Regions from separate parts of the Homo sapiens genome. Here region 2 is linked to region 1. The links are contacts of gene promoters, found by promoter capture Hi-C in human tissues and cell types (Jung and others, 2019). All regions are on one chromosome and are shown on one strand. The core of a region is centred on a gene start or on the middle of the fragment in contact, and the rest is flanking DNA. Distances in the headings are between cores, read along the strand shown.

Region 1 (5,843 bases), core at 1,982-4,481:
TTGTTTCCTCATGGGTAGACTCTCAGAGATGCTAGTAACTTTTCAAACACTTTAATGGGCCTTCATGGGGCTAATTAGTCCCACTTCCTCACCTGCCTTTTAAACTTTAATCAGTGAACACATCCTCCTCCCCAGTGGTGAGCTGCTGGGCTGCCAGGGGAAAAGATGGCTCTGGGGTTGCTCCTGCCAGCACAAGATCAGCTGTGAGGAGCTCACAGGGAGTGGGGCTGCCTCACACCTCTGACAACGTGAAAGACTAAAGTCGGTGACAGGCTCTGATCCCCAGACTCAGTCTATGAATGCAGAGTCTGGCTTTGTCTTTGCTGTGTTTCCATGGAAGACTTGTGTTCTGACCCCTACAGCAACAGCTCTGACATCAAGCCAGGTGCTTTGCTGGAATTACATGGTTTGCTGAAGGACATCTGAAGCTACTTTGAAGGAAGAAATGCTCTGGTGTTAGATTATCATCAGGTAGTAACCCAGATTTCCGGAAATGGTTAACCACAGATAGGTCTTCTGGAGGGAAGAGCATGTCCAGGATGACCATCCTACCCACAGGCTGATTTCCCAGGACACGGACAAATCCAGCAAGCTAGGAAGAGATACGTATATGTGGCTCAGGAAGATCTGTTTGCTCCTGCAAGTACCCCATGGTTTAGTGTTTCTCAGAGTGAGGTTCAGAGACCTCCTGTCTCAGTCAGAATCACCAGACTTTGGGGCCAAGCTATAGACCTATTGGATCAAATTTTCTGTGGGTTGGGACCTGGAATCTGCACATGTAACAAGCTTCTCCTGTGAACCTTGGGCAAGGCAGCTTACTGTTTAAGAACCATTGTTTGGGATCACTGTTGCTCAGGGAATCTCACTGGCTGCTTTTCTTGGCTGCCTGCCCTTCATATCCACATGTGCTCTCACTGTGCTATCCCAGGGATGGGGGCAATGAGTCGGGTATAAACAGAGCTTCTTTCCTATGCCTCCCTCATCCACAGGCCCCAGGCATTTGCTCTCACTCTTATGCACTCCACTCCATAATCCACTCCCATATGATAAGATCATCTTTAAGTTTTCCTCCTACATTTCATTCACAGGTACAAACAATAGCCAATAGAAATAGTGGTAATTCCAGCATCCTTTGAACAACTGTCAGAGATGCCAATTTCTCCATAATCCTTTCCTTGAGTCACTCTATATTCTTAAGAATTTTGAATTTAGTGCAGATTGGTGAAGAGAGATGAAAGAGGAGAGGGGAGCAGAAGAGAGAGTGTGGGTTTAAAGTAAATGATAAATCTGGAGGCTCTGATCAGCTATCCACTGTATTACCCACCACCCTACCCCATCCCATCCCACCACTCCACCCCAGTGTATGCTTCCTGCCTCATCCATACTGTCTGGAGCATTGCACATATTTCTATTTTTCTCTTCTTTTGTTCTTTTAATCAGAGAGATACTTGCAGACCTATTACCTAAATTGAAACAGCCCACCAAGGAAAGAAGATGGGAAGCTGGGTCTGAAAATTCTACTCCACTCCTAATGACCACCTTTCTATTTTCTTAAAGTGCCTGCAAGTTATTTCCACTCTGGGAGTTTTACAGTCATTTATCTGAATTCCTCTAATTTGCCTTGAAGTCGAATTGGCCTTTGTCACCAATGGCGCCAAAGACATTTGCAACCCAAATCTAGGACTGCCCACATTCTACAATAGTGAGATTTATTATAAAATGACAGCTGTTAGAGTAAGGATAGCTGAATGTTACATCTAAGTGACATGAAATAAGTCACAGAATTGCATTCCATGAGTTCTAAAAGCAGTTGCTAATGTTCTGTGTTCAAATTTGCACTTATATTTTGTGTCTCAATTTTATTAGGGCATGTTACCTCTTTGGGCATTTCTAAAAGCCTTTTTCTTGTCACCAGTCACAGTATTCTATCAACACAAATGGTGCCTCATTCCCTGCCTGACAACTAAATTTAGTTATACATATGTCCAGAATCTTCTCCTGCCCAGGTAGTTTGATGATTCTGGAAATTATGTCATTGGAATTCGTCAGAATGTTTGCTTGCTCAATCCAGCTCTTTCCTCTCCAAATTCTCCCAACACTTTTCACAGGTGTGTTATTCGCTTACTCTCCTCAGGGCAGGATGAGGCAGCTCACTTTTGCCCCTTTTTGTCCTACTCAGCCACATCTGTTAGCTTCAAAGTCTTTGTAACTGAGAGTCTTCACCCAAGAGCACAGGGTGCTTAACTGGCTCAGCACCCAGAGGTAACTTGGGAAGACACGTGGTAGAGGAGCCAATGGAACAGAGGAGAGTGTGGTGTTTAGGTGATGCATTCAAGCTTTGTTCACTCTCTAAATAGAAAAGGCATTTTCACAAAGACTCACTCACTTCGTTCCTTTCCTACTGGCCATAACATCCTCTGAGTCCAGGGTGATTTTGTTCTCTGGAAATGATGGGCAGCTTTATGGATGATGAGGAGACTCTCCCGTTGGTGGAGGCTCCCACATGCAGTCTTACACTACCTCCATCTCTCCACACTCTCAGCCCTTGTTACCTTAAGTATTCACATTATTGCCTGGGTAGTGCTGATTTCACAGGGCCAGTTTTATAGCTGACCCATCAGCCATCTACAGCCTCTCTGAAAGCCTGTTTAGTCACGCTTGCATAGCACGTGTGTCTCTGTCTATACTGTTAGGTGGTAGGTTGCTTGCTAAGCTTTGTTGTGGGTTCATCTCATTTATCATGTTTATTTAGGTTTTGGATCTATCTTCTTAGTGAGCATGCTCATAGCTAACCTTCTTTGAACTTCCTCAACGTGCTGGAATTTGTTCAACTTCTCTGCATGAAATAACTCATTGAATTTTTATAATAATCTTTATAGACAGTTGCTATTATCCCTATTTCACAGATGGAAAAATGGAAACTCAGAAAGGTAAAGTAACATTCCCAAGATTACACAGCTAGTTAATGGCAAAGTCCTAACTTTGAACCTTAGCAGTCTGATACCACAGTATGTGTGGCTTAAACACAAAATATACTGTCTGTAGAATATAAGCTTCCCAAGGTCAGGCACTCTTGAATTCCTGATAGGGAGAACACAGAGCTAAGCAAATGGAAAACTATGAATATATACTTGGTGAGTGACTGTTTCATTACTTAGAATTTTTAAGATCCCCAAGACCAATTGTAGATATTTCTCTTATATTTTCCATTGCTGCTTAAGTAATGCTTACCAACTAACCAACCAACCAAGGAGAAAAGATCCTCTCTATGACAGAGTTTCATCTGCAAAGCCAAATGCCCTCAATAAGACTCATCTTCAGAAGGCTGTCCTTAGGCAGAATTAAACCCAGTCAGAGCCCCAGGTGTTCAACCTCATTTATGGTGGTGCCTTCTTTCTCCATCGCAGAGCACTGGAGAAGGATGAAAGGGGCAAACCTGAGCCAAGGGATGGAGTTTGAGCTCTTGGGCCTCACCACTGACCCCCAGCTCCAGAGGCTGCTCTTCGTGGTGTTCCTGGGCATGTACACAGCCACTCTGCTGGGGAACCTGGTCATGTTCCTCCTGATCCATGTGAGTGCCACCCTGCACACACCCATGTACTCCCTCCTGAAGAGCCTCTCCTTCTTGGATTTCTGCTACTCCTCCACGGTTGTGCCCCAGACCCTGGTGAACTTCTTGGCCAAGAGGAAAGTGATCTCTTATTTTGGCTGCATGACTCAGATGTTCTTCTATGCGGGTTTTGCCACCAGTGAGTGCTATCTCATCGCTGCCATGGCCTATGACCGCTATGCCGCTATTTGTAACCCCCTGCTCTACTCAACCATCATGTCTCCTGAGGTCTGTGCCTCGCTGATTGTGGGCTCCTACAGTGCAGGATTCCTCAATTCTCTTATCCACACTGGCTGTATCTTTAGTCTGAAATTCTGCGGTGCTCATGTCGTCACTCACTTCTTCTGTGATGGGCCACCCATCCTGTCCTTGTCTTGTGTAGACACCTCACTGTGTGAGATCCTGCTCTTCATTTTTGCTGGTTTCAACCTTTTGAGCTGCACCCTCACCATCTTGATCTCCTACTTCTTAATTCTCAACACCATCCTGAAAATGAGCTCGGCCCAGGGCAGGTTTAAGGCATTTTCCACCTGTGCATCCCACCTCACTGCCATCTGCCTCTTCTTTGGCACAACACTTTTTATGTACCTGCGCCCCAGGTCCAGCTACTCCTTGACCCAGGACCGCACAGTTGCTGTCATCTACACAGTGGTGATCCCAGTGCTGAACCCCCTCATGTACTCTTTGAGAAACAAGGATGTGAAGAAAGCTTTAATAAAGGTTTGGGGTAGGAAAACAATGGAATGATTTCTCAATGCATTACCACATATCTTTAGAAAGTCAAGGGAACTTTTACCTTAGGTGGTGTCACCCTGAGCACATTCCCATGCCCACCCCTGTGAATATTGGGCATGCCCTCTGGTCTGCAGGTGCTTCTGCATCTACCTGCCACAGAAGAAATGATGGTGTCCTAGAGACTAAGAAGTGAGAAGGGTGTGTCTGCTTGTTGCATAATTCAACCTGTTGGCAAGATTTAGTAATCCATGTTGAGATGCTTCATTCATTTTTCCCAGTTAGTGTATTTCCTTTCCTTTCCCACCCTCCCTCCCTCCCTCCCCACCTCCCTTTCTTCCTTCCTTCCTTCCTTCTTTCCTTCTTTCCTTTCTCTCTCTCTCTGTCTCTCTCTCTCTCTCCACCCCCGAGGCTGGAGCACAGTGGCATGAACATTGCTCATTGCAGCCTCAACCTCCTGGCCTCAAGCGATCCTCCTGCCTCAGCCTCCTGAGTAGCTGGGACTACAGGTGCATGCCACCACACCTGGCTAAATTCCTGATAGGGAGAACACAGAGCTAAGCAAATGGAAAACTATGAATATATATTTGGTGAGTGACTGTTTCATTACTTAGAATTTTTAAGATCCCCAAGACCAAATTGTGGATATTGCTCTTATATTTTCCATTGCTGCTCAGGTAATGCTTGTCAGCTAACCAACCAGCCAACCAAGGAGAGAAGACCCTCTCTATGACAGAGTTTCATCTACAAAGCCAAATGCCCTAAATAAGACTCATCTTCAGAGGGCTATTTTTAATTTCTGTAGAGATGGGGTCTCCCTATGTTGCCCAGGCTGGTCTTGCACTCTTGAGCTCAAGTGATTCTCCCACCTTGGCCTCCCGAAGTGCTGGGTTTACAGGCATGAGCCACCATGCTGGCCTGTCATTCTTCTTCTTTTTCTTCTTCTTCTTTTTTTTTTTGAGGCAGAGTTTTGCTCTTGTTGCCCAGGTTGGAGTGCAATGGTGTGATCTCGGCTCACCACAACCTCTGCCTCCCAGGTTCAAGCGATTCTCCTGCCTCAGCCTCCCAAGTAGCTGGGACTACAGGTATGAGCCACCATGTCTGGCTAATTTTGTATTTTTAGTAGAGATGGGGTTTCTCCATGTTGGTCAGGCTGGTCTTGAACTCCTGACCTCAGGTGATCTGCCCACTTCGGCCTCCCAAAATGCAGGGATTACAGGCATGAGCCACCGCACTGGCTGTCTTCTTTTTAAATATAGGCATTTAAGACAAATTTTTTCAAATTCTATTTAGCCTGCATCCCATATGTTTTGAAATATGGTGTTTTTAGTATTAAGTTCTGTGTATATTCTAATTTTTATTATCATTTATTCTTTAATCCATGAGTGGATTTTTTTAAAATTTCCTAATATCTGGGCATTTATGAAAAATCTACACCCAACATTATACTTACTAGTGAAATAATGCTTTCCCCTTAAGATTTGAAGCAAGGCAAGTTTTC
Region 2 (5,843 bases), core at 913-3,412, 46 kb after region 1:
CACACCTATAATCCAAGCACTTTGGGAGGCCGAGGTGGGCGGATCATCTGAGGTCAGGAGTTCGGGACCAGCTTGGCCAACATGACGAAACCCCATCTCTACTAAAAATACAAAAATTAGCCAGGCATGGTGTCAGGAGCCTGAAATCCCAGCTACTTGGGAAGCTGAGGCAGGAGAATTGCTTAAATCTGGGAGGCGGAAGTTGCCGTGAGCTGAGATTGCGCCATTGCACTCCAGACTGGGCAACAAGAGTGAAACTCCATCTCAAAAAAAAAACAACAACTATTTTTTTACAGACAGGGTCTCATTATATTGGCCGGGCTGGTCTTGAACTCCTGGTCTCAAGGGATCCTCCTACCTCAGCCTCCCAAAGTCCTGGGATTACAGGTGTGAGCCACCGCTCCCACTTGTGCTTCATCTTCTAATGCCAAACTGATAGAAAAATCAAAACCTATTGACCAGTGAAGATATACTATAGCAAAACCAACTGCTGATAGTAGATCAACTCAATCCAAAGAAAACTCAGAAGAGAGAAAAGCTCATCTGAATGAGTGGAAAGCTGGCAAAGAAAGAGTGCTGAAAAGGCCTCCTAACTGAATAGTTACCTAGTATGAACCTTAAGAACAAAATGAAAAACCAGTTGGGTCCTTTTGGACTACCATGGCAGAAGATGAACAAAAATTATTTACTGAAAAGGTAAGCGACACATTTTCTGAATGCCTAAACCTAATTAATGAAGGACGCGCAGAAGAAGAAATACTGGTCACACTGAACGATCTGATTAAAAATATTCCAGATGCCAAAAATCTTGTAAAATATTGAATATGTCTTGCACATACTGAACCAACCCCAAGTCCTATTGAAAGTATTCTCGCAATCTATGAGAAGGCCATTCTGGCAGGGGCTCAACCTATTGAAGAGATGTGACACACAGTTGTAGATATTCTACCAATAAAGAGTTAAGAAAATGTCAGTTTTGGAGAAAATATTGAGGAGGCTTGTGCAACCAAGGAACAAGTCCAAGAAGTCAACACTGAAGATACAACTGTTAATTCAGAGTCAGGAAGACCAGAAATGGGGAATAGACATCATATTTTTTGTATGCTTCCACAGGCACTGAAGAGAACAGACATCATGGAAACGTGCTATTTCAAGATTCTGAAAAATAGCAAGATGACAAAACAAAAGATCCAACCAATGATGTTAAAATCCCCAATACAGAAACTAGGGCAAGTTGCTTAATTAAATATAATGTATTTACTATGACATACTTGCAAAGTGTAAAAAAGAAGGTGCAATTTGATTAAACAAATTATACATTTAAAGAGCTCAAGTTTTAAATACCAGTGAGATGTTCTCAATGTCAGCGTAAAACTTTAAAATTGCCAGGTATGTTAAAAGACCATTATCCCTGCGTGTCTTCATTGGAAGAGTTAACAGAGTTGGGAAGTGACACTGATCCCTTTGTATGCTGTCCTAATGCAGCACTATGCTGAATGTACTCTGAGACTGAAATAACAGATGAAATAGAAAGCTCTGGTAAGGAAAAAAAAAATATCAATGCCACCTCCCTCAAACTGCTATCACCAAATCATGAAGTGCAAGAGAGGGGACATGGGAGATGACGCCGAAGAGTGGGCAGGAGCCAAATCACAGAAGTCCATGCACCATTTTAAAATGCTTGGACTTAAGCTTGTGGGCAATGGGGAGGACCGAAAAGCATTTAAGCAGAGAAGCAACATGATTTAACTGCCAAGGAGATAGGAAGAAATGCTCAAACCTGCCTCTCTGAGCTGGGGGTTGGGTTGGATTTTATAAGCGTAGGGTAATGAGGTGTGATCTGATTGCATTTTGCAATGACATGATGCCAGGAGGCATGATATGACTGGATCCTGCCATGGGGTGATGCCAGAGCTCATCTGATTGGATTCTAGATCCTGCTATGCGGTGTCTGCTTCTCAATTCAGTCCTCCCCACCCTTCTTGGTCTGAGTACTCAGGTTTCCCCTGTGGTAGAACATGTGTTCATCTGGGCATGCTCAGGTTACAGGACTTTCAACCTGGGGTCCATGGCAACCGAGAAATAACTTACAACTTTGCTACATAAAAGTTGAACCAGATTGGCCTGATGTGGTTACAATAATACAACACAGAAAATTCAGAAAAATGGGGTGGGGGGCAAAAGCTAGGGCAGGAATTCAGATTTTGGATGTGCTGTTTGGTTATGGTAGATCTTCGCAGGTCTTTTTAAATACAAAGATCTTGAGAAATTAGACATTAAGTTCTTAAAACCTTTCTTATCATATCCTTCTAAGGCATTGTTTTTCAGAGAAAGAAGTAATTTTGCTTCCCAGGAGACATCTGGCAATGTGTAGAGATATTTTTGGTTGTCACAACTGGAGGGAGGGGTGCTACCGACATCAAGTAGGTAGGGCCCAAGGTTGCTGCTTAGCATTCTACAATGCACCAGTCTTCCATAAAAAAGAATTACCTGGCCCAAATATCAATGGTGCCAAGATGGATACATTCAGTTCTAGGGACTAGAGGAATACCAGCATCTTATTTTACAATTTTGTCCAGGGCGAGACATTGGAGAGTATGGATGGGTCAATTAAAAAACATCATCACGGCTGAAAAGCCAATGTAATCTGAGTGTTGGCAGAGAAATTAAAAGTCATCTAATTCAACCACTCAGCTGATATTTGAATATTTGCTTCAATAACCTGTCATTGCATGAGAAAGCTTATTGCACAAAACAGCTCTAACATATCCACAGGCTGAGAGCCCAACTTGAAAGCATTTCATCTTTTGAAAGGTGTTCAGTTTCTATTTTTCAGTCTAAAATTGGCCTCTCTATAACAAGTAACCACTGGACCCAGTTTCACTTCTTAGTTACGCAAAGAACAATTTCTTTTCATCATAATTATCTTTGAGGCTTATAAAAGCATAAATTCTCTTTCTCCTGTGCTATGACTTTAGCTTTACATAAAGAATAAGAGTGGGCCGGGCGCGGTGGTTCATGCCTATAATTCCAGCACTTTGGGAGGCTTGGTTGGGTGGATTGCTTGAGCTCAGGAGTTGGAGACCAGCCTGGGCAACATGGTGAAACCTCTTCTCTACAAAAAATACAAAAATTAACCAGATGTAGTGGCATACATCTGTAGTCCCAGCTACTTGGGAGGCTGAACTGGGAAGACGGCTTGAGCCCAGGACGCGGAGGTTGTGAGCCAAGGTCGCGCTACTGCACTCCAGCCTGGGGCAACAGAGCCAGACCCTCTCTCCAAAAAGGAATAAGAGCGAGCACATAGCATTTTCTTTATATATAAAGAGAGCATATAACGAGGCAAAGCAAATAAAATTATATTTTAGTAGTTTGGACTTGGGTAAAAACAAGAAAACTTTATGGATGGCAAGGGAAAACTGTCAAGAATCAACAAAGAAAATTCATTAACTCTGGACAGAAATTAGGAAAAGCTTCTGATAAGAAAAATAAACCAAAGATTCAGATGCTAAGTGGAACCAAGAAAAGTAGGCAACACAAAATATAAATGAAATAAGTCAGAAAAAAAAATAGGCAAACAAGGAAAAACATAAAAGAAACAGAAGATGATAGTAAATGGCACCTGAATTTTAAGGAGAAGCCAGCCTAGTAGCAATTTACCTGTAAGTATGGCTGTCTCTGGCCTGAGGCCGTAGGAAATTATATGAGCAGGCCTTTCCTTCTGAATTATTATAATGGGGACATCAGGTTAAAGCAAACACCAAAAGCAGTCTTCTTCTTCTTCCACCTCCTCCTCCTTTCCTTTCTCCTTCCCCTCCTCCTCTCTTCCTCCTCCTTTTTTTTTGAGAAGGCTGGGATTAGGGGTTATGGGAGCTGGGTGGAGTCAGGAGAGGGGGCTAACAACTAGGGGAAAGTTGTATGAATTTGTTAGCAATGGGAAGATTTTAACTATATAGGTATATATATAGTTATATATATATACATATGTGTGTGTGTGTGTGTGTGTGTGTATACACACATGTTATCACAATGAAAAAAATAGCAACTAAAAACATTTTCCTGCCTTCCCTCCTGTGCTCACTGCTTAGTCACCAGCAGCAGCAGCCCAGGTCAGGGCAGTATCTCACATTCCCAGTTCCCTGGAGATGGACCTCTGATCACTGTAGTACATAGATCCTGTCATATTTATAGGAAACACAGTGACTCAGTGAGAACACCACTGCCACTGTCCCGCCAGCCCATTAATCAAATGTCAAATTTGAGGCAGCACTGGCTGGGCCCGCCAGGATGAAGGGTGTGGACGCAGAGCAACACACCCTTCTGTTTTCTTGTCTAGACCCATTTTGTGTGGGCCTAGAATCCAGAAACCTGTTGGGAGACTCTTCATTTCTTACTGAAATTAAGAGCATCCCAGTCCCAGGTGGCAAGGGGCAAGAGACTGCATTCTTCAGGCCAGGCAGGCGCGGTCAGCTTCAATTACCCCTGGGTAGTTGGGTTCACTGAATTTGGTGGCTCCTGGCCAGGACTGCATAACAGACACAGAGGCCCAAGGGTTTGCAGAAGACCAGGAGGGGCCCTCCGCCTCCTGCCTCATTGTGAGGCCCAGGTTTCCAGCCAGGCCGAGTGTGCTGCTGCCCTCAGGGGCCCATTGCAGAGGAGGAACTTGGGGAGCGCCCCACACCATGGAGAGGAGAGTCTTTCCCCAACTAAGCCACTGCCAAATGCCATTACCTTAGGAAAGGCACTTTGTGAGACCTCAACCTGGGCAGCCAAGAGGCCACGAGATGGCAGCAGAGGACACAGCCCTGGACACAAAACCTGAGCCATCTTGCCAAAAGGCAGATTCAGAAACGGAAAAGAGTTCATTTGTGAAATACTGTCAGTTGTCTATGATCACGTATTAAAAGCCAGAATAAATGACAGAATTTCAAAGAAATGAGGGTAAAATGTATTCACATGGAGAATTTCCCGACCACCAATGTGCCACAGCTGCATATGAAGCCACATATCATGAACTGGATTTCTTTAATGTTTAAAAGAATAGATAGGGGTCACGGCCTTTAAAAACTGACGTCAGCAGAAACCTTGTCAGTTTCTTCTTTCAGTGAAGTTCCCATTCAAGTAAAATGAGTGACCTCCACAGAGGCTGCCAAACTGATGAAGAAAGAGGCAGATACAGTGGTTGCTGGGAATCACTGCAGCAAAGCAGAACGCTGTCATGGAGCAGCCCGGGACTGTGGCAATAGGCAGTGTGGAGGGGGAATAATGAGGAACACAGGACAAGTCTCCAATAGTCTTTGCTTGCAGCTGGCAGAGGATAATGCACAGGAAAGCGGCATTAGCAGCACTGGAACTAAATCCCAAATCTGACTTCTCATCTACTGCGCCTTCCATTGTTACATATTCCCTCCTCCCCCACTCCTCAGTTGTGACTAACAAATATGTCTCCAGACCTTGCAAAATATCCTCTGGGGAACGAAATGACCTTTCTCTGAGAACCAATGCCCTAGAGGGATATGATGAAAAAGGTTTTATCAGAAAGGTTTTAAGAATTTAATATTTAATCGAAGACTCTTGGACTTTGCAAGGTCTACATGAACTGTAACATATATCCAAAACCTGAATTCCTACTATGTTTATCTAATGCAGACTGATGATTGAAGAACTATAGCTGAACTGGCTCTTGAGTTTTAAGAAATTATCATTTAAACTACTTCTTACCTCTACAGGCAATTTATTTTTAACCCCTGAAGTGGTTTATAGTTTTAAAGTACTTTTCCTTGTGTGATTTTATTTTAGCCTTGATACTCCAGTAAGGTAGACAGAATAAATATTACCATAAC

Evidence for each region. Contacts are between HindIII fragments. The study calls those that stand out against the background at their distance.
Region 2: a fragment that was not itself captured here is called in contact with the fragment with the promoter of OR5AU1 in region 1 in 2 of the 25 tissues and cell types used here (mesendoderm cells and thymus).

Annotation. Positions count from the first base shown.
Region 1 is chr14:21,153,451-21,159,293 of GRCh38, reverse strand. OR5AU1 (olfactory receptor family 5 subfamily AU member 1) reads left to right here and starts at 3,231. Exons shown (of 1, transcript NM_001004731.3): 1 at 3,231-4,429. The coding sequence starts at 3,422. The coding sequence ends at 4,357. The HindIII fragment of the contact is 4,022 bases long and covers 2,884-5,843 here.
Region 2 is chr14:21,105,977-21,111,819 of GRCh38, reverse strand. It overlaps the pseudogene CKAP2P1. Among named protein-coding and RNA genes, the nearest start is that of TMEM253, 7.8 kb to the right of the region's middle. The HindIII fragment of the contact is 5,951 bases long and covers 1-5,137 here.